4 separate regions of the Homo sapiens genome follow, and all the other regions are linked to region 3. The links are contacts of gene promoters, found by promoter capture Hi-C in human tissues and cell types (Jung and others, 2019). All regions are on one chromosome and are shown on one strand. Each heading gives the region's core, a stretch centred on a gene start or on the middle of the fragment in contact. The rest is flanking DNA. Distances are from core to core; before and after follow the strand shown.

Evidence for each region. Contacts are between HindIII fragments. The study calls those that stand out against the background at their distance.
Region 1: a fragment that was not itself captured here is called in contact with the fragment with the promoter of ATF1 in region 3 in 1 of the 25 tissues and cell types used here (dorsolateral prefrontal cortex).
Region 2: a fragment that was not itself captured here is called in contact with the fragment with the promoter of ATF1 in region 3 in 1 of the 25 tissues and cell types used here (dorsolateral prefrontal cortex).
Region 4: a contact is called between a fragment that was not itself captured here and the fragment with the promoter of ATF1 in region 3, in 1 of the 25 tissues and cell types used here (stomach).

What each region holds. Positions count from the first base shown.
Region 1 is chr12:50,285,320-50,291,573 of GRCh38, forward strand. The region is part of intron 1 of LOC107984505 (a long non-coding RNA gene); the gene reads left to right. It also overlaps the pseudogene LOC100418734. Among named protein-coding and RNA genes, the nearest start is that of LIMA1, 4.9 kb to the left of the region's middle. The HindIII fragment of the contact is 5,152 bases long and covers 28-5,179 here.
Region 2 is chr12:51,242,216-51,248,008 of GRCh38, forward strand. SMAGP (small cell adhesion glycoprotein) reads right to left here. Exons shown (of 4, transcript NM_001031628.2): 3 at 4,536-4,616; 4 at 2,343-3,904. The coding sequence ends at 3,726. DAZAP2 (DAZ associated protein 2) reads left to right here. Exons shown (of 4, transcript NM_014764.4): 4 at 115-1,718. The coding sequence ends at 243. Among named protein-coding and RNA genes, the nearest start is that of DAZAP2, 6.3 kb to the left of the region's middle. RefSeq lists enhancers at 5,234-5,735, 5,736-5,793. The HindIII fragment of the contact is 4,727 bases long and covers 1,791-5,793 here.
Region 3 is chr12:50,759,492-50,766,006 of GRCh38, forward strand. It overlaps ATF1 (activating transcription factor 1), which reads left to right and starts at 4,610. Exons shown (of 7, transcript NM_005171.5): 1 at 4,610-4,816. RefSeq lists enhancers at 2,205-3,073, 5,374-5,473 and silencers at 4,564-4,643, 4,864-4,953. The HindIII fragment of the contact is 17,018 bases long and covers 1-6,515 here.
Region 4 is chr12:50,461,130-50,466,694 of GRCh38, forward strand. LARP4 (La ribonucleoprotein 4) reads left to right here. Exons shown (of 16, transcript NM_052879.5): 11 at 6-218; 12 at 1,453-1,501. Among named protein-coding and RNA genes, the nearest start is that of SNORD133, 7.3 kb to the left of the region's middle. The HindIII fragment of the contact is 7,756 bases long and covers 1-5,565 here.

The DNA.
Region 1 (6,254 bases), core at 1,354-3,853, 480 kb before region 3:
ACCATTATTAGAAATCAAATTATATAAGCTACAATTAAATTATCTTAAAAATAAAAGTAATAGGCCAGGCATGTTGAGTCACATTTGTAATCCCAGTGCTTTGGGAGGCTAAGGCGGGAAGATGGCTTGAGGCTAGAAGTTTGATGTTGCAGTGAGCTATGATCACACCACTGCACTCCAGCCTGGGCAACAGAGTGAGACCCTATTTCTAAAAAAAAATTTTTAAATATAATAAATATTAAAAACTCATCACTTTGTAGTTTTTTTCTTCATTTTACTAATAATTCTGCTCTTGAGGTTATTTGTCCATTGTATTCCCTGTGGAAATACTACATATGTTGTATGCATCTCTTCCCAACTCTATTCAGAAATGTCACATTGGTAGCACGAAATTGGCTGTAAGGGGAGTATTTACACCATGGAAATGGGCAAATGCAGCAAGTCAGGGCGTGATTTATTGTTTTGTTGATTTTTCTAGACCATATGTTAGCAAACCTTTTGTGTAAACAGCCAAATAGTAAATATTTTAGGCTTTGTGGGACTTATAGTCTCTGTCACAGCTACTCAGCTCTCACTGTAGTGCCAAATGTGCCAAAGTAGCCATAGACAATACTTAAAGAATGGGCATGGGCCAGGTGCAGTGGCTCACACCTGTAATCCCAGCACTTTGGGAGGCCCAGGCAGGGATCACTTGAGGCCAGGAGTTAGAGACTAGCCTGGCCAACATGGCAAAACCCTGTCTTTACAAACAAATAAAATAAACAGACAAAAAAGCTGGGTGTGGTGGTGTGTGCCTGTAATCCCAGTTACCTGGGAGTGTGAAGTGGGAGGATGCCTTGAGCCCAGGAGTTGGAGATTGTAATGAGCCGAGATCACACCACTGCACTCCAGCCTGGGCGACAGAACAAGACCCTGTCTCAAACAAAAAACTCATAGGCCTTTATCTGATAGTGAAGGGAACAATAGAGTTGAAAGGGAAAAATGGAGTAGATACAGGCAAATGTTTACATACATGATACGGTGCAACAAGAATAGCAGAACATACTGCAAAAGAAATTATGTCAACATATTTAAGAATCTTGGAAGAGAATGGCAAATATGCACTATAATTGATGAGACATCTACATATTGGAAGAAAATTACCTAGAGATTTATCTCCAGTACACAGTTGAATAAGCTTCTGTACTGGTAAAGATATTTGTTGCTTTAAAAGAATTGGTGTCAGCTGGGCACGGTGGCTCACGCCTATAATCCCAGCACTTTGGGAGGCTGAGGTGGGCAGATCACAAGTGGGCGGATCACGAGGTCAGAAGTTCGAGACCAGCCTGGACAACATGGTGAAATCCCATCTCTACTAAAAATACAAAAATTAGCCAGGTGTAGTAGTGTGCGCCTGTAGTCCCAGCTACTCAGGAGGCTGAGGCAGGAGAATCGCTTGAACTCCAGAGACACAGGTTGCAGTGAGCAGAGATCACACCATTGCACTCCAGCCTGGGCAACAGAGCGAGACTCCATCTCCAAAAAAAAAAAAAAAAGTAATTGGTGTCTGCCACACAGATTATATTTCTACTACATTATTGTCTATTTTACTTTTTTTCTTTTGAGGCAGAGTTGTGCTCTGTCCCTCAGGCTGGAGTGCACTGGCACGATCTTGGCTCACTGCAACCTCTGCCCCCTGGGTTCAAGTGATTCTCCTGTCTCAACCAAGTAGCTGGGATTACAGGCGTGCACCACCAAGCCCAGCTAATTTTTGTATTTTTAGTAGAGACAGGGTTTCACCATGTTGGCCAGGCCGGTCTCAAACTCTTGACCTCTAGTGATCGACCAGCCTTGGCCTCCCAAAGTGCTGGGATTACAGGCGTGAACCGCCGCGCCCAGCCGATATTGTCTACTTTAAATGTGGCTTCAGTAATGAATATTTGAAATTTAATAATGAATAGTTGAAAGTAAGCTGCATTTTGTTTTAATGGTGCTTTCACAATAATGGGAAAGAAGACTGGAGTGGCCACAGATTTGTCAGAAAAATTTCCTAATGTCATCATTTGGTTCTGTTACCAATTATAATTCAGTATCTGAAATAAAACAAGTCAATCATTTAAAAATATTCTGGATAGTCTGGGCACGGTGGCTCATGCCTGTAATTCCAGCACTTTAGAAGGCCGAGGCAGGCGGATAACTTGAGGTCAGGAATTCAGAACTGGCTTGGCTAACATGGTGAAAGCCTGTCTCTACTAAAAATACAAAAATTCACTGGGCGTGGTGGTGCACGCCAGTAGTCACAGCTACTCGGGAGGCTGAGGCAGGAGAATCACTTGAACCCAGGAGGCGGAAGTTGCAGTGGACTGAGATTGTGCCACTGCACCCCAGCCTGAGACAGAGTGAGACTCCGTCTCAAGAAAAAATAACAATATTATGGATAAAATTTATTCTGTTTACCACCAACCCAAAAAAAGGAAACAGTTGGAAATTATAGCTAAATAACTTGAAACTGAAATTATTAAAATTAGCCAAGTACTTAGGTTGAGATGGGTGGACATGTACTTTACCAACCGCTAATGCTGCATGGCACACATATCCTACATTATAAATGCATTTTTCTCATTCTTTTTATTCTGGCCTAGCAACAAGATCAGCTAATATTAATTTCTTGTAATACCTTACTTTAATGATTGATATTCTTAAATAATTTTCATTACTTTCAGTTGCACTGCAGTTAAGATCAACCAACATTCAGAAAATTAAAAAATTAATAGAATGCACTATAAAAGCTTTGGAAAAATTAAAAATTGGCATTAGAAAGCATGACTCTCAAGTTGAATATTTGGTTAAGTCATCAGTTTGAAGTCATTCCATTTAATAATTTTTTTTTTGAGGCAGGGTCTCACTCTGTTGCCCAGGTTGGAGTGCTGTGGCACAATCATAGCTCATTACAACCTCACACTCCTGAACTCAAGTGATTCTCGTGCCTCTGCCTCTCAAGTAGCTGGGACGACAGGCACATGCCACTACACCTGGCTAATTTTTAAAAACTTTTGGTAGAGATGGGGTGTCACATGTTGCCTAGGCTGGTCTTGAACTCTTGGCCTCAAGCAATCTTCTCATCTTGGACTCCCAAAGCACTGGGCTTACAGGCATGAACTGCCACACCTAGTCAAAAATAGATTTAAACCTCTGCCTAAGAATGTGTTACTAAAAAGTAATGAATACATGTCTTTTATTAGAAACATCATTTTAAGTTGTTTTTATTTGTTAAAATCACCTTCTTGGACTTCTTCACTGTGGAAAATAATATCATTTAAGTGAAATTTTAAAACATGTATTTTGAATTATTTTTTCTTTTTTTTTGATATGGAGTCTCGCTCTGTCACCCAGGCTAGAGTGCAGTGGCGTGATCTCAGCTCACAGCAACCTCCACCTCCCAGGTTCAAACGATTCTCCTGCCTCAGCCTCCCAAGTAGCTGGGATTACAGGCGCCTGCCACCACGCCCAGCAATTTTTTGTATTTTTAGTAGAGACAGGGTTTCATCATGTTGGTCAGGTTGGTCTCGAACTCCTGACCGCAAGTGATGCGCCCACCTCGGCCTCCCAAAGTGCTGGGATTACAGGTGTGAGCCACCATGCCTGGCCTTGAGTTATTTTCAAGATTTTGCAAGTAATAATTTAGAATCAAACAAAATTACAATCCCTGCAATTATACAAAAAGCTAAAAAGATAGCATTATTGCAATCAATAGTGCTAAAACTGAAAGAAGTTTCATTTTAATAAGTTTGTATGAGGTTGAAAAATGGTAATGGATGAGGAATGGTAGTTTAATAGTAAATCAAATGTCACACTTAAGGACAAGAAATATGTTGGGAAAAGATTAGCAGATTGAAAACATCGAATGATGGTTGAATTGCCATCATAAATTGGCTGAGGTAGAAGAGTTTGGAAAAATTATTGAAAGCTTGTGGAATCAACTGGCTGTGTGGAATTCACAAAAAGAGTATTTTATATTTATTATTTGTAAGCTGTAAGCTACACATGCTTTATATTAGTAACATTTTTATAGATTTATATAGATAGATATAGATATGCACACATTATCTCCCCAGGGAGCTGGTTGTTTATTAGCACATTAATGAGTAGTATGTATTTTTAGGGGTAATGTGAAGCTCAAACAAGAAAATGTATGTAAAATATTTGGTATTGCTTACTACAAACTTGATAATAAATGTTAACTCTGTTCCCACTTTCCACCCTACCTGCTTTGTTCTTTCCTGAACAAGTTACTTAACTTTTCAACCATAGTTTCCTAATGGGAATTACAGGTTCATTCCTAATTGACTTTTGGGGATTCAATAAAATGGCATGTCTTACTTAGCTGACAAACTAGGAGCTTAGATTTCTGTTCCTCCTTCTTCTTTTAGTATATAAAGGTGTAATTCATTAAGCATTTGGTAAAATGAAACTTCTGCCATGTCCTTAGGAATAAACCAAAGAAAAATGTTCCAAAATTATTTATAGTTAATAATCTCATATATTGTTATTTATCTAGATCTAGTCTACTTACTGCCAAACTTTTTTTTCATTTCAGTTTATAGTTATAGTTGATCAATCAGATGTCTTTTTTTTGGTAAATATTCTTGTTTTTTATTTTGTTTTTATTCCTGGCAAGCTATGATAGATAGGTAAACATTCTTTTTTTTTTGAGACAGAGTCTCACTTTGTTACGCAGGCTGGAGTGCAGTGGCACAATCTCGGCTCAGTGCAACCTCCGCCTCCCAGGTTCAAGGGATTCTCATGCCTCAGCCTCCCAAGTAGCTGGGATTACAGGTGTGCACCACAACGCCTGGCTAATTTTTTTTGTAAAGACGGGGTTTTGGCCATTCGCAGTGGCTCACACCTGTAATCCCAGCACTTTGGGAGGCCAAGGTGGGTGGATCACCTGAGGTTGGGAGTTCAAGACCAGCCTGACCAACATGGAGAAACCCCGTCTTTACTTAAAATACAAAATTAGCCGGCCGTGGTGGTACATGCCTGTAATCTCAGCTACTCGGGAGGCTGAGGCAGGAAAATCACTTGAACCCGGGAGGCAGAGGTTGAGGTGAGCTGAGATTGCGCCATTGCACTCCAGCCTTGGCAACAGGAGCAAAACTCTGTCTCAAAAAAAAAAAAAAGAAAAAAGAAAATGGGGTTTCACCATGTCTTGAACTCCTGACCTCAAGTGACTTGCCTGCCTTGGCCTCCCAAAATGCTTTGATTACAGGCATGAGCCACCACACCTGGGCAGTAAACATTCTTGAAAAAATATTGTTTACCTTAGATTATAAACTTGAGAATCAAGATCTGTTTAACCATATTCTCTCTTCTGCTTGCCTTCCATAGTTGGAAGAATTGAGTCAACCAAAGAGTACTATCCACTTCCAAATTATTTTTTACTCTTACCAAAATATGAACTTCTAGGGGGTTTTGTTTGTTTGTTTTGAGACAGGGTCTCACTCTGTTGCCTAGGCTGGAATGCAGTGGTGTGATCGTGGCTCATTGCAGCCTCAACCTCTGAGCTCAAACAGTCCTCCCACGTCAGCCTTCTGAGTAGCTGGGACTACATAGGCACATGCCACCACATCCTACTAATTTTTGTATTTTCTGTAGAGACAGGGTTTCACCACGTGGCCCAGGCTGGTCTGAAACTCTTGAGCTCAAGTGATCCACCTGCCTTGGTCTCCCAAAGTGCTGGGATTACAGGTGTGAGCCACTGCACCCATGAGATCTCTCTTTTTTTTTATGGCTGAATAGTACTCCACTGTGTATAGGTACCACATTTTCTTTATCCCATTCATCTGTTGATGGACACTTAGGTTGCTTCCAAATCTTGGCTATTGTGAATAATAGTGCTGCAATAAACATGAGAGTGCAGACATCTCTTTGACAAAGTGATTTCCTTTCTTTTGGGTATATACCTAGGAGTGGAATTGCTGGATTGTATAGTAGCTCTATTTTTAGTTTTTTGAGGAACCTCCAAACTGTTCTCTGTTATAGTTGTACTAATTTATATTCCCACCAACAGTGTACGAGGGTTCCCTTTTCTCAACATTCTTGCCAGCATTTATAATAATAAATGCCTGTCTTTTGGATAAAAGCTATTTTAACTGGGTGAGATGATATCTCATTGTAGTTTTCATTTGCATTTCTCTGATGATCAATGAATTATGTTGATCACCTTTTCATAAACCTGTTTGCCATTTGTATGTCTTCTTTTGAGAAATGTCTGT
Region 2 (5,793 bases), core at 2,904-5,403, 480 kb after region 3:
TAAAACGCAGCTGGTTAGCACATTGCCTCATCCTAACAGGCCTCTGCTTCCCCTATGTCCCCTTCGCTTATATTAGCTGCCCTGTGCCCATTCTATCATGTCATTTCCTTTCAGCCTCCACCTCCTGGATGCCCTCCCAATGCTGCTCAGCTTGCAGTCATGCAGGGAGCCAACGTCCTCGTAACTCAGCGGAAGGGGAACTTCTTCATGGGTGGTTCAGATGGTGGCTACACCATCTGGTGAGGAACCAAGGCCACCTCTGTGCCGGGAAAGACATCACATACCTTCAGCACTTCTCACAATGTAACTGCTTTAGTCATATTAACCTGAAGTTGCAGTTTAGACACATGTTGTTGGGGTGTCTTTCTGGTGCCCAAACTTTCAGGCACTTTTCAAATTTAATAAGGAACCATGTAATGGTAGCAGTACCTCCCTAAAGCATTTTGAGGTAGGGGAGGTATCCATTCATAAAATGAATGTGGGTGAAGCCGCCCTAAGGATTTTCCTTTAATTTCTCTGGAGTAATACTGTACCATACTGGTCTTTGCTTTTAGTAATAAAACATCAAATTAGGTTTGGAGGGAACTTTGATCTTCCTAAGAATTAAAGTTGCCAAATTATTCTGATTGGTCTTTAATCTCCTTTAAGTCTTTGATATATATTACTTGTTATAAATGGAACGCATTAGTTGTCTGCCTTTTCCTTTCCATCCCTTGCCCCACCCATCCCATCTCCAACCCTAGTCTTCCATTTCCTCCCGCCAGTCTCCATTGAATCAATGGTGCAGGACAGAAAGCCAGTCAGACTAATTTCCTTCTTTCCTCGCACTTCTCCCCACTCGTCATCTTTTAACTAGTGTTTCACAAGGATCCTCTGAAACCCTCTCTGTGCCCCAAGTACAGATGCCATTACTTCTGCTTTCGTATCTCCTCAGGCAAAAGTGGAGGGTGCCTTATGGGCCCTCCTCATAGGTTGTCTCTGCATACACGAACCTAACCCAAATTTGCTTTGGTGCCAGAAAAACTGAGCTATGTTTGAACAAAGATGTCGTGCAAACTGTACTGTGAACAACAGTTGGTTTAAAATATGAGGGGCAAGGAGGAGGATGCATTTCAAAAGCTTGATTGATGTGTTCAGAGCTAAATTAAGAGGAGTTTTCAGATCAAAAACTGGTTACCATTTTTTGTCAGAGTGTCTGATGCGGCCACTCATTCGGCTCCCCAGAATTCCTAGACTGGGTTAATAGGGTCATATTGTGAATGTCTCACTACAAAATGACTTGAGTCCAGTGAAATCTCATTAGGGTTTAAGAATATTTCAGGGATCCTTAATGTTTTGATTTTTGTTTTCTGAAATTGGATTTTATTTTATTTTATCTTATAATTTCAGTTCATCTAAATTGTGTGTTCTGTACATGTGATGTTTGACTGTACCATTGACTGTTATGGAAGTTCAGCGTTGTATGTCTCTCTCTACACTGTGGTGCACTTAACTTGTGGAATTTTTATACTAAAAATGTAGAATAAAGACTATTTTGAAGATTTGAATAAAGTGATGAAGTTGCATTACACCTCACTGCAAGGATTCTTTACTTAGCTTGTTTTTAGATTTCTTCTATATATATTTTATTTATATCCCATCTAGAATTCAGCTAGGTGCTGCTGCTGCTCTGTTTCCTTTGATGACGCTTTGAAATAAAGGCAGGAGTACAAGCCTAAGACTTGATCATTTCATGAATTCCATTCCAGATGTTCAACTTTTCATCATTTTACTCCAACCTCTTACAAATTTTGGAATTTCGGACCTAAACTTAGAAATGAGGGAACTATTGATTCTCCTAACTTGCTCTAAAGTTTGGCTTGAAGAAAAGGTTCTGGTATAGCAATTTGTATACGTTGAGGATGACCTTTAGTTTCTCCAATGTTCTATGTGGAGAAATACTGAAAACTCATAGAATCTAGGTTGCCAAGATAGATTCCTCAGCTCTTTTATTTATTTTTTGAGACAGGGTCTCCCTCTGTCACCCGGGCTGGAGTGCAGTGGCAGTGTCTGCTCACTGCAACCTCCACCTCCCGGGTTCAAGTGATTCTCCTGTCTCAGCCTCCTGAGTAGCTGGGATTACAGGCACCTGCTACAACACCTGGTTCATTTCTGTACTTTTAGTAGAGACGGCTTCACTGCGTTGGCCACGCTGGTCTCAAACTCCTGACCTCAAGTGATCTGTCTGCCTCAGCCTCCCAAAGTATTGGGATAACAGGCAGTGAGTCACTGCACCCAGCCAGATTCCTCAGCTCTTGATCTTAACTTGGTTGGGTTTGAGCTTGGACAACAGAGGCAATACATTAAGACTTCAAAGGAGATCTAGCTTTAATTCCAAAGTGAACAATATCTGATGAGCTAATAATTTATACCAAAATGTGCCTTTTAAACACAACTTATCTTGAGACTAAAATCCAAGAAGCTTCTTGGCTTGATTCTGAGGATACACTGGGAAAGGTGGTAGGTTGATTTTTTCTGGTTCCTTCTGTATATATGTAGAAGGGATTCTGGGAAATTCTGGCCCTTGCCAGGATGGAGGCTTGAACCAACTCATCTCCCAGGGTACTTTTTTTTTTTTTTTTTTTTTTGAGACGGAGTCTCACTCTGTTGCCCAGGCTGGAGTATAGTGGTGCAATCTCAGCTCACTGCAAGCTCCGCCTCCTGGGTTCAAGCCATTCTCCTGCCTCAGCCTCCCAAGCAGCTGGGACTATGGGCGCCCGCCACCACGCCCAGCTATTTTTTTTATATATTTTTAGTAGAGACGGGGTTTCACCGTGTTAGCCAGGATGGTCTCGATCTCCTAACCTTGTGATCCGCCTGCCTCGGCCTCCCAAAGTGCTGGGATCACAGGCGTGAGCCACCGAACCCGGCCCTCCCAGGGTATGTTTCTAATGATGTTCCCCTGGAACAAGCTTTCCTGCACCATCTTTGTCTCAAATCCCTGAGATAGTTCTGCAAACTTCTAGAACTTTCCTAGGGTTCTTATTGCTTGGAAGAGAACATATGTAAAGGCGTTAAATAGGGAAAAGAAAATGTCAAAAATGTTTAAGCAAAAATAAGTCAAAATGTAGTTACTTCTTGCACATGAGAATCTGATTTCTGTAGCAATGAAAATTTTTAATTTGAATAAAAATCACGTAAGCATGAGGTTGTTGGGGAACACGGAAAGGAAGGGCTCAGATTAGGGGGTGTAGCACATTTATCAGGAGGTAAGATCTCCATAGTCTCCTACCCCTCCTGGCCTGGCCTTTTACTGTGGTATCCAGCCTCTGGGAAGACCTTGTATGGACAGTATCTCCACTGGGGCTATCACTAGGTGACCAGGTAGGGGACAGAGTAGAGCAGCCAATGACCTTAACTCAAAATCTTTTCTCTCCCTTCAACCTGTGAAAAAAGATGACTGGGCACATACTCAGATGTCCCCTGGCATAGCCACATCTTGTTGGCCAGTCACAAACACCAGCTCTAGTAAGAGGGCCTGGTTAAAGATATCATAAACAGCTTTCTCCATGTCCCTGGTCCCTGGAGTCAGTGATGTCGGCATTTGGGACTGCGACCTGGCTGGAGCTTGGATTTGCCCACATCAATCAATGCTTCTCCCTGGCTTCAGAGAAAACTTTCCCATAATAAGCAGTCAACGTGTTAGCGATGGAGCCAGGAATAAGCTCCTTGGGGCCTGGGAGTCATTAGATGAAATATTCCTCTTTCTCGCTGCCCTTGGCCAAGTCACTCTCCATCTGGACGATGGCACTGGGCTCACCTTCTGTAGGTTCATAGGTGACGTAGCTGCCTTTGTTCTTGTACAGGTAAAAGAAGATCAAGATCACGACCGAGAGCAGGGTGAGGAAGACAACGGTGATAACAACTTGGAAAGGAGAGGGAAAATGTAGAGATGTTTCAGGATTGAGGATGTCTCAGTAGTTCCTGGAGTCATCTGATTTAGTCACTGTTTTCGTAAAGATCCTCTTGTTTTCATTAACTAGTGTCCACTTCCATCCAAACCCATGTTCCCCCACCAACCCCAATTTCCATGGCACATAATAGCTGGAGTCTCCTGGTGCTTAAGCTAAGGACACATGCTTTTGATTTCTGACAAAACTGAACTGCCTCCCAAACCAGTTCCTGATTCTTAAAGAAACGGGAAGGAGGGAACAGGAAATGGCTTATCCTAACAGGAAGTGGTTTATCTGATCCTCCCCCTCTTCCTCACCCACTCAACCAACCACATATATCCTCGTCCCTACCCACGTACTCAAGTGTAACGTCCGTATGCATATCTATTTGCGGCCACCTCCCAACCTGTCATTTACTGGTAGTGCCTCTGACAGAAGCCTCCGAGTCTTTTATGGCTGTGTGTGTGTGTGTGTGTGTGTGTGTGTGTGTGTAATATAACTTACAAGCCAGAGTGAGCCCATTAATGGATTTGGTCAGGCTCCCTCTGGAGAGAGATGCCCTTGATCCAGAAGGTCCCTTGGAGTTGGCTCAGAGTCTATTACCTGCAATGAGTGCTGTGCTGGCTCCATCTTCTGGGGACAGGGCCTCAGTGGGCTGTAAAATTGGGGTGGTCATCAGTTCTTCTGGAAAATGTAGAAAAGTGGAAAAGGAAATGGAGTGAATTCTTTTGTTTGAAAGCATATGTTTGGCCTTCAAATTTCACCACCCCACCTTCTTCCCTATTCAAAAGTTTATCATTTAACTCCTAGAGTATATCCAAATAGAAAATCCTAGAGAATAAAGAAGAAAATAAACCACCACCCAAAGACAATATGTTGATGGATTTCTCCCTGCATAATATAGTGATTAAGAGTAGGGGCTATAGAGCCTGACAGACTGGGTTTCAAATATGAACTCTGTCCTTTACTAGCTGTGTGACCTTGGGAAAATTACCTAACCTCTATCTGCAAAATGGAGGTAAGAGTACCTACTTTAAAACGTTGTTGTGACATTTAATAAGTCACTCAGTAGGATAAGCCATTATTAGGAATGCATATTTTTACAATAAGTGAGATCAAATGAGTTGTATGTGTATATATTTACATTATATTATATAGCATGTGCATTTTCTTGCAGCATTCTTACTAATTCTTTGTAAACATTATTTTAACATAATGAAATAGTGCTCCTCTCCTATTAAAAACCCTTTTCTACACTTCCAGGATAGGCCCTGCAATTTGAAAGGTTCTGAAACAGGCCTCTCCTCTACCCTAAAATAGATCCTGCACCCCCTCCTGCTACGGGTTTATTTATCCTTCAGAGCGTGAAAGTCCCACCCTAAAGTCATTACCCAGGGACAGAACATGACAAAATGAGTGGTCTCCAGAAGTCCCTTTTAAGTGTTTACACAGGAAGTCAGGAAGCCCTTCCATTCTTTCCTATTAGCATTTTAATGTAGAGGTTACTGCAGGATAGAGGTCTCCTGGGGAAAACCAGCTGGCTGATCCTGGCAACACCCACAGGAGGCACCCCGACCTGACTGGCATCCCATAAACAGCAACACTCACCCACTGCCTCCTCTTTGCTAGGCCCTGTGCTAGATGAAAGGTCGAGCAAAACAGACACGGCCAGCTTCCCGAGGCTCACCCTCCACTGCACCCCACAGCTTGCACGGTGAGGAGCTGCTGTAAGTGCACTTAGGAAAGTGTGCAGCCGAGGGGCCTGATCTAGTCTTCCAGCCAGAAGCGACCCCCCAAGGGAGGAATATCTGACCTGGGAGCTGAAGCAGGGGTAAGAGTTTACCGGGTAACAGGGATGGGG
Region 3 (6,515 bases), core at 3,360-5,859:
CTAAAAAAAAATCCAACATTTATTTAGTGCTTACTATATACTAGGCACAGCTCTAACTTTACGTGTATCAAAGTAATTCAGTCTACAAAACCCTATGGGATAGGCAGTGTTATTAAATCCATTTCATTATAACCTCTTTTTTTAAAATTTTTTTTTAATGGGATGGAGTCTCCTTCTGTTGCCCAAGCTGGAGTGCCATGGAGTGATCTCAGCTCACTGCAACCTCTGCCTCCTGAGTTCAAGTGATTCTCCTGCCTCAACCTCCCGAGTAGCTGGGATTACAGGTGCATGCCACCACACCTGGTTAATTTTTTTTCTTTTTTTTTTGAGACAGAGTCTTGCACCATCACCCAGGCTGGAATGCAGTGGCACAATCTCAGCTCACTGCAACCTCTGCCTCCCAGGTTCAAGCGATTCTCCTGCCTCAGCCTCCTGAGTAGCTGGGATTACAGGTGCACACTACCACGCCTGGCTAATTTTTGTATTTTCAGTAGAGACGGAGTTTCACCATGTTGTCCAGGCTAGTCTCAAACTCCTGACCTCAGGTATCCACCCGCCTCGGCCTCCCAAGGTGCTGGGATTACAGGTGTGAGCCAATGCCTGGCCACATCTCTCTTTTCTAACAACAAAAAAGTGTGCCAGAAGAGCCAAAGTGGTGCTACCACAGGCTTGCCCAGTTTATTTTAAAAAAAACAATTACTTTTGGCCAGACACGGTGGCTCACACCTGTAATCCCAGCACTTTGGGAGGCTGAGGCGGGCGGATCACCTTAGGTCAGGAGTTCGAGACCAGCCTAACATGGTGAAACCCCATCTCTACTAAAAATACAAAAATTAGCCAGACGTAGTGGTAGGCGCCTGTAATCCCAGCTACTCAGGAGGCTGAGGCAGGAGAATCCCTTGAACCCAGGAGGCAGAGGTTGCAGTGAGCCAAGATACCCCCACTGCACTCCAGCCTGGGCGACAGAGCAAGACTCTGTCTCAAAAAAAAAAAAAAAATTACTTTCGGCTCTAAGTTTCTTTTTCTTTTTCTTTTTTTTTTTTTGAGGTGGAGTCTTGCTCTGTCACCCAGTCTAGAGTGCAGTGGCACGATCTCGACTTACTGCAACCTTCACCTCCTGGGTTCAAGGGATTCTCCTGCCGCAGCCTCCCAAGTAGCTGGGACCACAGGTGTGCTCCACCACGCTCAGCTAATTTTTTGTATTTTTGGTAGAGGCAGGGTTTTGCCATACTGGTCTTGAATTCCTGACCTCAAGTGATCCACCCACCTTGGCCTCCCAAAGTGCTGGGATTACGGAGGACGTGAGCCACCCTGCCCGGCCATGGCTCTAAGTTTCTTTGTTTCACTTTCCTTGCTTCTAATATTAAAGATCTGTCCATCTGATTTATGAAACTTACTATTCAGATAAACTGCATGCATCAGAACCAAGACCTCTTTTTTTTTTTCATCTAGTTATCACAGTTCAGAAGACTGGTAGGCACAGTTTATGATACTTCAATGAGAAAGAGACAAGAAAAGCAGAAGTATTTTTGAGGGGCAGTGTTGAACAAGCATAACTTTTTTTCTTCTTTTCCTCTGTCAACTGAGTCGTGGTTTTTTGTTTTTGTTTTTTTTTTTTGAGATGGAGTCTCACTGTTGCCCAGCCTGGAGTGCAGTGGCACGATCTCGGCTCACCACAAATTCCGCCTCCTGGGTTCAAGCGATTCTCCTGTCTCAGCCTCCCGAGTAGCTGGGACTGTAGGCTCACGCCATCACGTCTGGCTAACTTTTGTATTTTCAGTAGAGACGGAGTTTCGTCATATTTGCCAGGCTGGTCTCGAACTCCTGACCTCAGGTGATCCACCCACCGCGCCCTCCAAAGTGCTGGGATTACATGCGTAAGCCACCGTGCCCGGCCTGAGTTGTTTTTTAAACAATTTTAAAAAAAATTATTTTAGAGGCTAGGTGCCGTGGCTCATGCTCGTAATCCCAGCACTTTGTGAGGCTGAGCAGGCGGATCATTTGAGGTCAGCAGTTCGAGACCAAGACTGGCTAACATGGTGAAACCCCGTCCCTACTTAAAAAACTACAAAAATTAGCCAGCTGTGATGGCACACACCTGTAATCTCTCAGCTACTTGGAGGCTGAGGCAGGAGAATCACTGAAATCCGGGAGGTGGAGGTTGCAACGAGCCAAGATTGCACCAGTGCACTCCAGCCTGGGCGACAGAGGCAGACTCCATCTCAAAAAAAAAAAAAAAATTAGAGACAGTGTCTCATCTGTCATGTAGGCTTGAGTGCAGTGGCATGATCACAGCTCACTGTATCCTCAAACTCCCGAGCTCAAATGATCCTCCTGCCTCAGCCTCCCCAGTAGATGGGATTACAGGCGCATGCCACCAGGACTGGTCGAGCGTAACATTTGATTTAGACCTAAGGCACTAAGGAAGAGGAGCTAAAGAAGTAGTCAAGGCACATTTTGAAGGTTTCATTTTTCAATAAAATTTCCAGGTTTTTATTTTTTTTCTTTGGAGACAGTCTCCCTCTGTGGCTCAGGCTGGAGTGCAGTGGCGTGATCTTGGCTCACTGCAACATCTGCCTCCCAGGTTCAAGCGATTCTCATGCTTCAGCCTCCTGAGAGGCTGGGATTACAGGTGTGTGCCACCACACCTGGCTAATTTTTGTATTTTTAGTAGAGACGGGGTTTCACCATGTTGGCCAGGCTGGTCTCGAACTCCTGACCTCAGGTGATCTGCCCTCCCCCACCTCCCAAAGTGCTGGAATTACAGTCATGAACCACGACGCCTAGCCCCTCCCCCGCTTTTTACTGATCAACTTTTGTTAAGCATTCTGTGGTCCACGGAAGAAAAAACCAAACACCAAAGAACAATAAACTTGTACAACCAGCCTTCCAGCCATCAATATTCTGGATTCCAGAATGATTGAGGCTGGACTTTGTTAATCATCGAAGGCTGGTATCTGAGAAACTCTTCCTCTCCCTTACCTTTATAGGCCACTTTTCTTTCAGTAATGCTGAAACACTGACTTAATAACAGTTGTCCCCTGGTCTAGCATTTAATAGGTAATCCACAATTTTTGCTGAATGTCAATAGCTAAACGTTAGTGACCTCTTAAGACTGTCTGGCAGAGTAAATCTTCGGCTTTATATCACATTCTCCGACCCAAAGGGCCAAAAATAGGCAAAGCTCTCTCCACTAAATCGGTTTCCTAAATTGGGGATCTCAAACTAGTAAAATTTCAGAAAACTTTCGGAACTTTTGTCAAGAGCATACTAAAAAAGTTTATCTTTTGTCGTTTACTATCATTAAAGCCATAAAACAGCATTTTACAAGGAAATTTTAAAAATTAAGAATAAGGCATAACTCCCTTCCAGAGAGGTAGACCCAAAAATATTCTGAAGTTTTTGTAATGCATTAAAATGACGGCATAACATTTTATTAACACTCTGTTACGTTTCTTTTTTCTTTTTTTTTGAGACAGTTTTGCTCTTGTTGCCCAGGCTGGAGTGCAACGGTGCGATCTCGGCTCACCGCAACCTCCGCCTCCCGGGTTCAAGCGATTCTCCTGCCTCAGCCTCCCAAGTAGCTTGGATTACAGGCATTCGCCACCACACCCGGCTACTTTTGTATTTTTTAGTAGAGACGGGGTTTCTCCATGTTGGTCAGGCTGGTTTCGAACTCCCGATCTCAGGTGATCCGCCCTCCTGGGCCTCCCAAAGTGCTGGGATTACAGGCATGAGCCACCGCGCCCGGCCACATCGTTATGTCTCATTGTAAATCCGTTTCTGTAGAAAATCCTTCCACATGGGTTAAAGGACACAACTCATTGTTACTTTATGGGATTAAGAAAAATCTGAGTAAGGCCGGGCACGGTGGCTCACGCCTGTAATCCCAGAACTTTGAGAGGCCGAGGCGGAGGATCACTTGAGCCCAGGAGTTCAAGACCAGCCTGAGCAACATAGAGTCCTCATCTCTTCAAGCCGAGCGTGGTAGCGCGCGCCTGTGGTCCCAGCTGCCCCATAGGCTGAGGTTGGAGAATCGCTTGAATCCCGGGGTTGGAGGCTGCAGTGAGTCGAGATCGAACCACTGCACTACAGCCTGGGCCACAGACCCCCGTCTCAATCTCGGAAAAAAAAAAGAGACTCCATCTAAAAAAAAAAAAAAAAAAAAAAAGCTGAGGAAGTCAAAGCCTTCACTCTTCATTTCTCCTTCCAAGAGGACAGGGCCGGCGTCGGTCAAGGTCAATTGGCAGGTGAGTTGACAGCGCCGCCACTAATCGATGAAAACGCCCCCCGCGAGCACCCAGCTGCTCATGGCCTCCGGAAGCGGACGTAGGGCGGGTGGGGTACAGCTCCTAAGGAGAAACGGAACCGCAGGCACCGTCCCTCTCCCGCTGCAGCCTGAGGAACGCGTTCCGAGGAACCCCTAGCCACAAGTCAGGACCGCGTACAAGATGGCGGCGCGTCACGTGGGCAGCGCGGTGACGCAGGACGGCGGCCCGCGCGGAGGCAGCGCCATAGCCTACCCCAAACGCACACTAGTGCTCAGTTTTGCCCCCCTCCCCTCCCCCGCCCCCGCCCCCGCCCCCAGGCTTGTGTAGATCATGCCGCCAGTAGCGGCCCTGACTGCCGAGGAAACGGTAGCTTAGGACAGTTGGCTGTTAAGTGACACTGATTCTCCCCGCCCCGCCTGACCCCCGAGAAGGAGGCTTGTCCCCCGCTGCGTGAGGGGGTGGGGAAGTGGGTAGTGAATTCGGATCTACCTGGGAGGGGGGAGTGGAAGTTCCCGCCCCGGAGAGCGGCGAGGCGGCAGCCACAGGTAAGTGGGGGGCGGGGAGGGACGTGCCCCGTGGCCCGGGCGGGGAAGGACGCGGGAACGTGGCGCCGGCGGGGACGCAGCGCGGGTCGCGCGCCTGGTGGGGGTCGCGCGCGGTGGTGGCGGTGGGGGAGGGGCGCAGCGGCAGGGGGAGGGGCCGCCCGCGCTTCCGGCCTCCGCGCCTCGGTGCAGAGCTGCGCTGCGCCCTTCCAGTCGTGCGTCTCCTCCTTTCCCTCGCCCCCAAATAAAAGTAAAGCCCGAAACCGCCCGCCGCGGGGTGGCTTTCGCCTCAGAAGCCGCCCTTTGCAGTCGCAGGCGCTAGCTCTCCGTGGGAGGTCTCGAGGTTGGGCCCGGAGCCGGGCGGAGGGCGGCGCGGATATGGCCTCGGCGCGGTGTCCGCCGAGCGGAGCCCGGGTCTGGTTAACCCCGCGACAGGGTCCTCGAAGCGCGTCGGCGCTGGCGACCCTGAGGGAAGAGGCGCGCCCCTTACCCTCCTGGAGCTTGCAGTCTAGCGGGCAACCGACGCACGGGCATTGCGCACGCCCCAGACAGTCCTGGAGAGATGCGCCTGGCAGCGGAGACAGAGTGGGGACAGTAGGCGGCTTTACCCCTGGCTAGGAATGACACAAGGGCGTCTGTACCCTTTGGGATGGGCGACCCAGCCGAGGGTGACTTTCTCTTTGATCTTGTATGTCAAAAAACGAAGCCTGGCATTTCTCACTTTGATCGACGCCGTGCAGCTGGCGGCTGAATCGCTTTGAAATGATTGCAATGTGAAATAATGTCTGGTTGTGGCGCTAGTGTTTTGAAGAGATTGGGCAACTGGTAGTCTTTGAGAACCTTTAGGGTTCAGAAGCTCGGCGTGGATCTGGCAGGCATCTTTGTCAAACTGGCCTCACCTGTGATGAGTTCGTAGGCATTTATGTCTCAGAATGCATTTTAACCTGAGGTTTTTGTTAACAGAAATGCGTTCTTCTAAAATGCTCTTTTTTCTTGGAGTTTATCATATGCAGTTATCTCCGTGTCTTAATTAGAATCAATACTGTTGCCCTAAAGTCGAATGTATTAGCTCTTTAATACTTGCCGTTATCTTTTAGGGTTAGGTTTGGTCTGTGAGCTATCTGTCCATTCCTACCCGATCACCAGCAGGTGGCAGTCCCTTCTGACTTTAAATATAGGGTGTGCTATCTTTGCCAGTTTTTGTTTTGTTTTGTTTGTTTGTTTGTTTGTTTTTAAATAGAGATGGTGTCAGAGGCGTGTGAACTAGAACAACTCCATCTTAAACAGGAGCTGGGTAAAATGAGGCTGAAACCTACTGGGCTGCATTCCCAGACAGTTAAGGCATTCTAAGTCACAGGATGAGACAAGTCAGCACAAAATACAGGTCATGAAGACCTTGCTGATAAAACAGGTTGCAGTAAAGAAGCCGGCCAAAACTGAAATGGCCACAAGAGTGACCCCTGGTCATCCTCACTGCTACACTCCCATCAGCGCCATTTACAAATCCCATGGCAATGTCAGGAAGTTACCCTATATGGTCTAAAAAGGGGAGGCGTGATTAATCCACCCCTTGTTTAGCCTATCATTGAGAAATAACAGTAAAAAGGGGTAACCAGCAGCCCTTGGGGCTGCTCTGTCTATGGAGTAGCCGTTCTTTTTATTCCTTTACTTTCTTCATAATGTTACTTTTACATCGCACTGT
Region 4 (5,565 bases), core at 985-3,484, 300 kb before region 3:
TATAGTGTGAAGCCTCAGTTTAGGTCATCTGGTGGTTCAGAACACTCAACAGAGGGCTCTGTATCCTTGGGGGATGGACAGTTGAACAGATATAGTTCAAGAAACTTTCCAGCTGAACGGCATAACCCCACAGTAACTGGGCATCAGGAGCAAACTTACCTTCAGAAGGAGACTTCCACTTTGCAGGTGGAACAGAATGGGGACTATGGTAGGGGCAGGTAAGAAAATAAAGTACCTGAAAACCTTTGATAATAATGTGATCATCCTGAATAATTGAAGAACATGATCTTCATAATAATTAAATGAGCATTTAATTATTGGTATATGGTTATATTAAATAAATACGTTATTTTCAGAACATGAGTTGGTTGCTTTTTATAATTATTAAGAAATAGAGTGCCCATACAGAATATAGCTCTGAATCAGAGGTTTATAAAGTTATTCTGAAGTTCCTTATAGCTCATATAAGAAAGAATAGCTTAGAAAATTAACATATCCATTTGCCTTATGGTTTTAATTTCTTCCAGCTTTTAAACTATAGAAGTGGCTGGGTGCGGTGGCTCACACCTGTAATCCCAACACTTTGGGAGGCCGTGGTGGGAGGATCATCTCAGGTCAGGAGTTCAAGACCAGCCTGGCCAACATGGTGAAACCCTGTCTCTATGAAAAAATACAAAAATTAGCTGGGCATGGTGGCAGGCGCCTGTAATCCCAGCTACTTGGGAGCCTGAGGTAGGAGAATCACTTGAACCCAGGAGGCAGAGGTTGCAGTGAGCCAAGGTTGCACCACTGCATTCCAGCCTGGGTGACAGAGCGCGACTCTGTCTCAAAATATAAATAAACTATAGGGGTGAGGTTATATATTGCCAACTTGCCTAATTAAACAATAGTATGGTTCTGGTTTGAAGGGATCACTACTAACAAATGGGCTCATCTTACTTTATGGTGTGGTAGTAGGTAAAGTTTTTAGTAAATTGGCTCAAGATCCCTCAGAATAATATATTATCTTTTAGTAATAGAGAAAACTAGCCCCAAATGTAGAAAGATGTTTAAATTGAAATGTATACAGCTGGCCAGGCATGGTGGCTCACGCCTGTAATCCCAGCACTTTGGGAGGTGGGGCAGGCGGATCATGAGGTCAGGAGATCGAGACCATCCTGGCCAACATGGTGAAACCCTGTCTGTACTACAAATACCAAAATTAGCTGGGTGTGGCAACACGTGCCTGTAATTCCAGCTACTCAGCAGGCTGAGGCAGGAGAATTGCTTGAACCCGGGAGGCAGTTCGTAGTGAGCCGAGATCGCGCCACTGCACTCCAGCCTGGCGACAGAGCGAGACTCCATCTCAAAAAAAAAAAAAATGTGTACGGCTTTGATAGAATGTATATATCTGAAGAAACTTATGACTTGTCCCTCCACCCCACCCCACCCCCACCTTTTTCTTATTAAAAGGAGAACTCTCTTCAGAGGTCGAAGACGACGAGAAGATGACAGGATCTCAGTAAGTTTTTTAAAACTTTTATTCAGACTTTTTTCTCTTCTGTGATTTACTATGGCATTGACTTTCGGTCTTTCCTTTCTGGGTTTTTGTTTTATTGATTGTAGTCTTCAGCAAAGGTAAATAGAGCCTAAATTTAACCCTGAAATTTTTACCACCACCACCCATATACCCACCCTCTAGCACACATGTAGTAAGGAGCTTCGCTTGTGTTGCTTGCTTAAAAAAATTATTTGAAGATCTAATGTATTCACATGATTTTTAAATAAAAACACGAAGTCTTTCTAACTTTCCTTACCTTTTCTTTCTTCTTTCTTTTCCAAGACACAGGATATTACTGTTTCCCAGGGCACTGGAATTACAGGCCTGAGCCACTGTGCTTGGTACAAGATTAAGGACTTCTAGGGAGAGGCAGAGGAGGAACGGGTCTTGCTCTGTCACCCAGGCTGAAGTGCAGTGGTACAATCATGGCTCACTGCAGCCTTCACATCCCAGGCTTAAGTGATCCTCCTCTCGAGTCGGGGTCTTGCGGGCCAGGCACCGTGGCTCGTGCCTGTCATCTCAGCTCTTTGGGAGGCTTAGTCAGTGGATCACTTGAGGCTACAGGCCCCATGCAAGTGCAAAACCAAGCAGAACGGTCAGGACATCTTCAAAGCTCCAAAATACTCACCTTTGGCCAGGCATGGCGACTCAAGTCTGTAATGTCAGCTCTTTGTGAGGCTGAGATGTACGGATCACTTGAGCTCAGGAGTTGGATACCAGCCTGGGCAAGGTGATGAAACCCCATCTCTCCAAAAAAAAAAAAAAAAAAAAAAAAAAAATTAGCCAGGCACCATGGTGCACGCCTGTTGTCCCAGCTACTTGGGAGGCTGAGGCAGGCTGATCCCTTGAGCCCAGAAGGTGGAGTGCAGATTGTGCCACTGCACTCCAGCCTGAGCAACAGAGTGAGACTCTGTCTCAAAAATAATAAACAAAATAATCTCCTTTGACTCCATGTCCCACACCTAGGGTACACTGATGCAAGGGTTGGGCTCCCAAGGCCTTAGGCAGCTCCACCCCTTTGGCTTTGCAGGGATCAACCCTGGAGGCTGCTCTCATGGGCCCATGTTGAATGCCTGTGGCTTTTCTATGCCTGTTCTGGAGTCTGGAGGACGGTGGCCCTCTTCTGCCACTATGCAGTGCCCTAGTGGAGGCTTGATGTGAGGGCTCCAGCCCCGTATTTCCCCTCTGCACTGCCCTAGTAGAAGTTTTCCATGAGATCTGTGCCCCTGGAGCAGGTTTCTGTCTGGACTTATACCAGGCTGGTATAAGTTTCTTTCAGAGGATGCCATACATCCTCTGAAATTGAGTCAGAGGCTCCAAAGCCAGTCTAGGAAGTTCGTCATCTCTATCTTCTTTTGAGCCTTCCAGACTCTTCCACCCTCTACCTGTTACCCAGTTCCAGTGTTGCTTCCACATTTTCAGTTATCTTTATAGCAGTGCTCCACTCCTCAGTACCAATTTTCGTTAAGCCGTTCTCACATTGCTGTAAAGAAATACTTGAGACTGGATAATTCATAAAGAAAAGAGGTTTAATTGGCTAACAGTTCTGCAGGCTGTACAGGAAGCATGATGCAGGCATCTGCCCAGCTTCTGGGGAGGCCTTGGGAAACTTACAATCATGGCTGAAGGCAAATGGGGACCACACAGTTTATACATGGCAGAAGTAGGAGAGAAGAAACCCATTTTCAAAGAAGAAAATATGTTCCATTATAACTTAGAATTGTTTTTAGGGTATACTAAATCTTTTAAATGCTTTTGTTACCCAGGCTAGAGTGCAAATGGCACAATCTCAGCTCACTGCAACCTCTGACTCCCGGGTTCAAGCAGTTCTCCTGCCTCAGCCTCCCGAGTAGCTGGGTCTACAGTCACCTGCCACCACGTCTGGCTAATTTTTTGTATTTTTAGTAGAGACGGAGTTTCACCATGTTGGCCAGGCTGGTCTCGAACTCCTGACCTCAGGTGAGCCACCTGCCTTGGCCTCCCAGAGTGCTGGGATTACAGGCGTGAGCCATCGTGCCTGACCAACAATTCTTTTTTTGAGACAGAGTTTCGCTCTTGTTGTCCACGTTGGAGTGCAGTGGCGTGATCTCGGCTCACTGCAACCTCTGCCTCCTGGGTTCAAGTGATTCTCTTGCCTCAGTCTCCCAAGTAGCTGGAATTACAGGCGCTCGCCACCGTGCCTGGCTAATTTTTGTATTATAGTAGAGACAGGGTTTCACCATGTTGGCCAGGCTGGTCTCAAACTCTTGACCTCAGGTGATCCACCTGCCTCGGCCTCCCAAAGTGCTGGGATTATAGGCATGAGCCACTGCACTCAGCCCAACAATTCTTTCTTAGCATTCCATAGTAGCAGTCCACATGACTTCTCAAGTGGCCCTCAACAATTTGGAATAAGAGATTAGGCCCTGCATGGTGGCTCAGGCCAGGCGTGGTGTCTCACGCCTGTAATCCCAGCACTTTGGGAGGCCCCGGTGGGTGCATTGCCTGAGGGTAGGATTTCAAGACCATCCTGGCCAACATGGTGAAACCCCATCTCTACTAAAAATACAAAAATTAGCCGGGTATGGTGGTGGGTGCCTGTAGTCCCAGCTACTCAGGAGGCTGAGGCAGGAGAATCACTTGAACCCAGGAGGCAGAGGTTGCAATGAGCTGAGATCATGCCACTGCACTCCAGCCTGGGCGACAGAGCCAGACTCTGTCTCAAAAAAAAAAAAAAAAAAGAGAGATTAGATTTGGGGTTTATTCAATATGTTGTAAATGTCATGATGGAGGACTAAACATTGGGGTTAAAGAAACAGGCATGACTTCCAGTAGGTAGGTCATGGTAGAGGAGCTCTTTTGCAGGAGGGAGATCTTAGCTGGGAATAAAATTTTGGATTTGTAAGCCTTCACATAGTAATTGGAGTGATAAGCTCATGCAGAGTACTCTCCATAGAGTGGTGAAAGTGGTCTAATATGGAACCTTGGGGAATAAAGCAGCAGTGTTGGGTTGAAAAATGAGATTATTCAGCATGCTGTTTGAAGTATTCAAGCAAAATCTGAATGGACATGGGTAATGGACAAATGTTATCTCGGTTGTAGGCAAAGGCCTAGGCTGAAAATATTTAAAACCTACAATTCAATGATATTTTTGTAAATTTACAGAGATATACCGCCATCACCACCAAAAAGCAAAACAGGTTGTTTTAACAGTTGCTTGCATATAGGTAGTAGTTGAAGCCATGGATAGTGGACATCACTCAAGGAGAATATGAGAAGTAAAGAGTAATAACCAAATGGAAACCATCAAAATTTTAGAAATGGTCAGGGGAAAAAGAGCACATGTCTGTCAAATCTAAAAAACAAAAAAGGTATCACAGAAGCTAAGAGAAAAATGTGTTCCCAAGGAAAGGATGGTTAACACACCAAATGCTATATGTCAGGAAATGAGAGGTCAGGAAAAAGGGTCTGTCAGGTTTTGCATTGTTGAAGGCATTGGTGACACCTAAAATAATTTTAGTGGAGTGATGACAAAGTGGAGGAGATACAAGTAAGAGGTAAGAGGCTTGTCAGAGGATATATAGGGTGTTAGACAGGAGGGAAGCATGAGATTTTTCATATATGTTATATAGAGGAGGGATATTGTTTTCTCTTGAGATAAATAGATGGAGAAAGATGGTGATGGGCGGGCACAGTTGCTTAAGCCTGTAGTCCCAGCACTTTGGGAGGCCAAGGAGAGAGGATCACTTAAGCTCAAGAGTTTGAGACCAGCCTGGGCAACGTAGTGAAACCTTGTCACTACTAAAAAACAAAAAATAAAAATTTAGCCAGGTGTGGTGGCGCGCACAGCTACTCTGGAGGCAAAAAAGGCAGGAGGATTACTTGAGTCCAGGAAGTCAAGGTTGTAGTGAGCTATGATTGTGTCACTGCATTTCAGCCTTGGTGACAAACTAAGACCCTGTCTCAAAAAAAAAAGAGTTGATAGCAAATTTAGGTAAAGTGGGTGTTTTTGTTAAGAAGGCATAGCAAATTATGAAATGAATAGT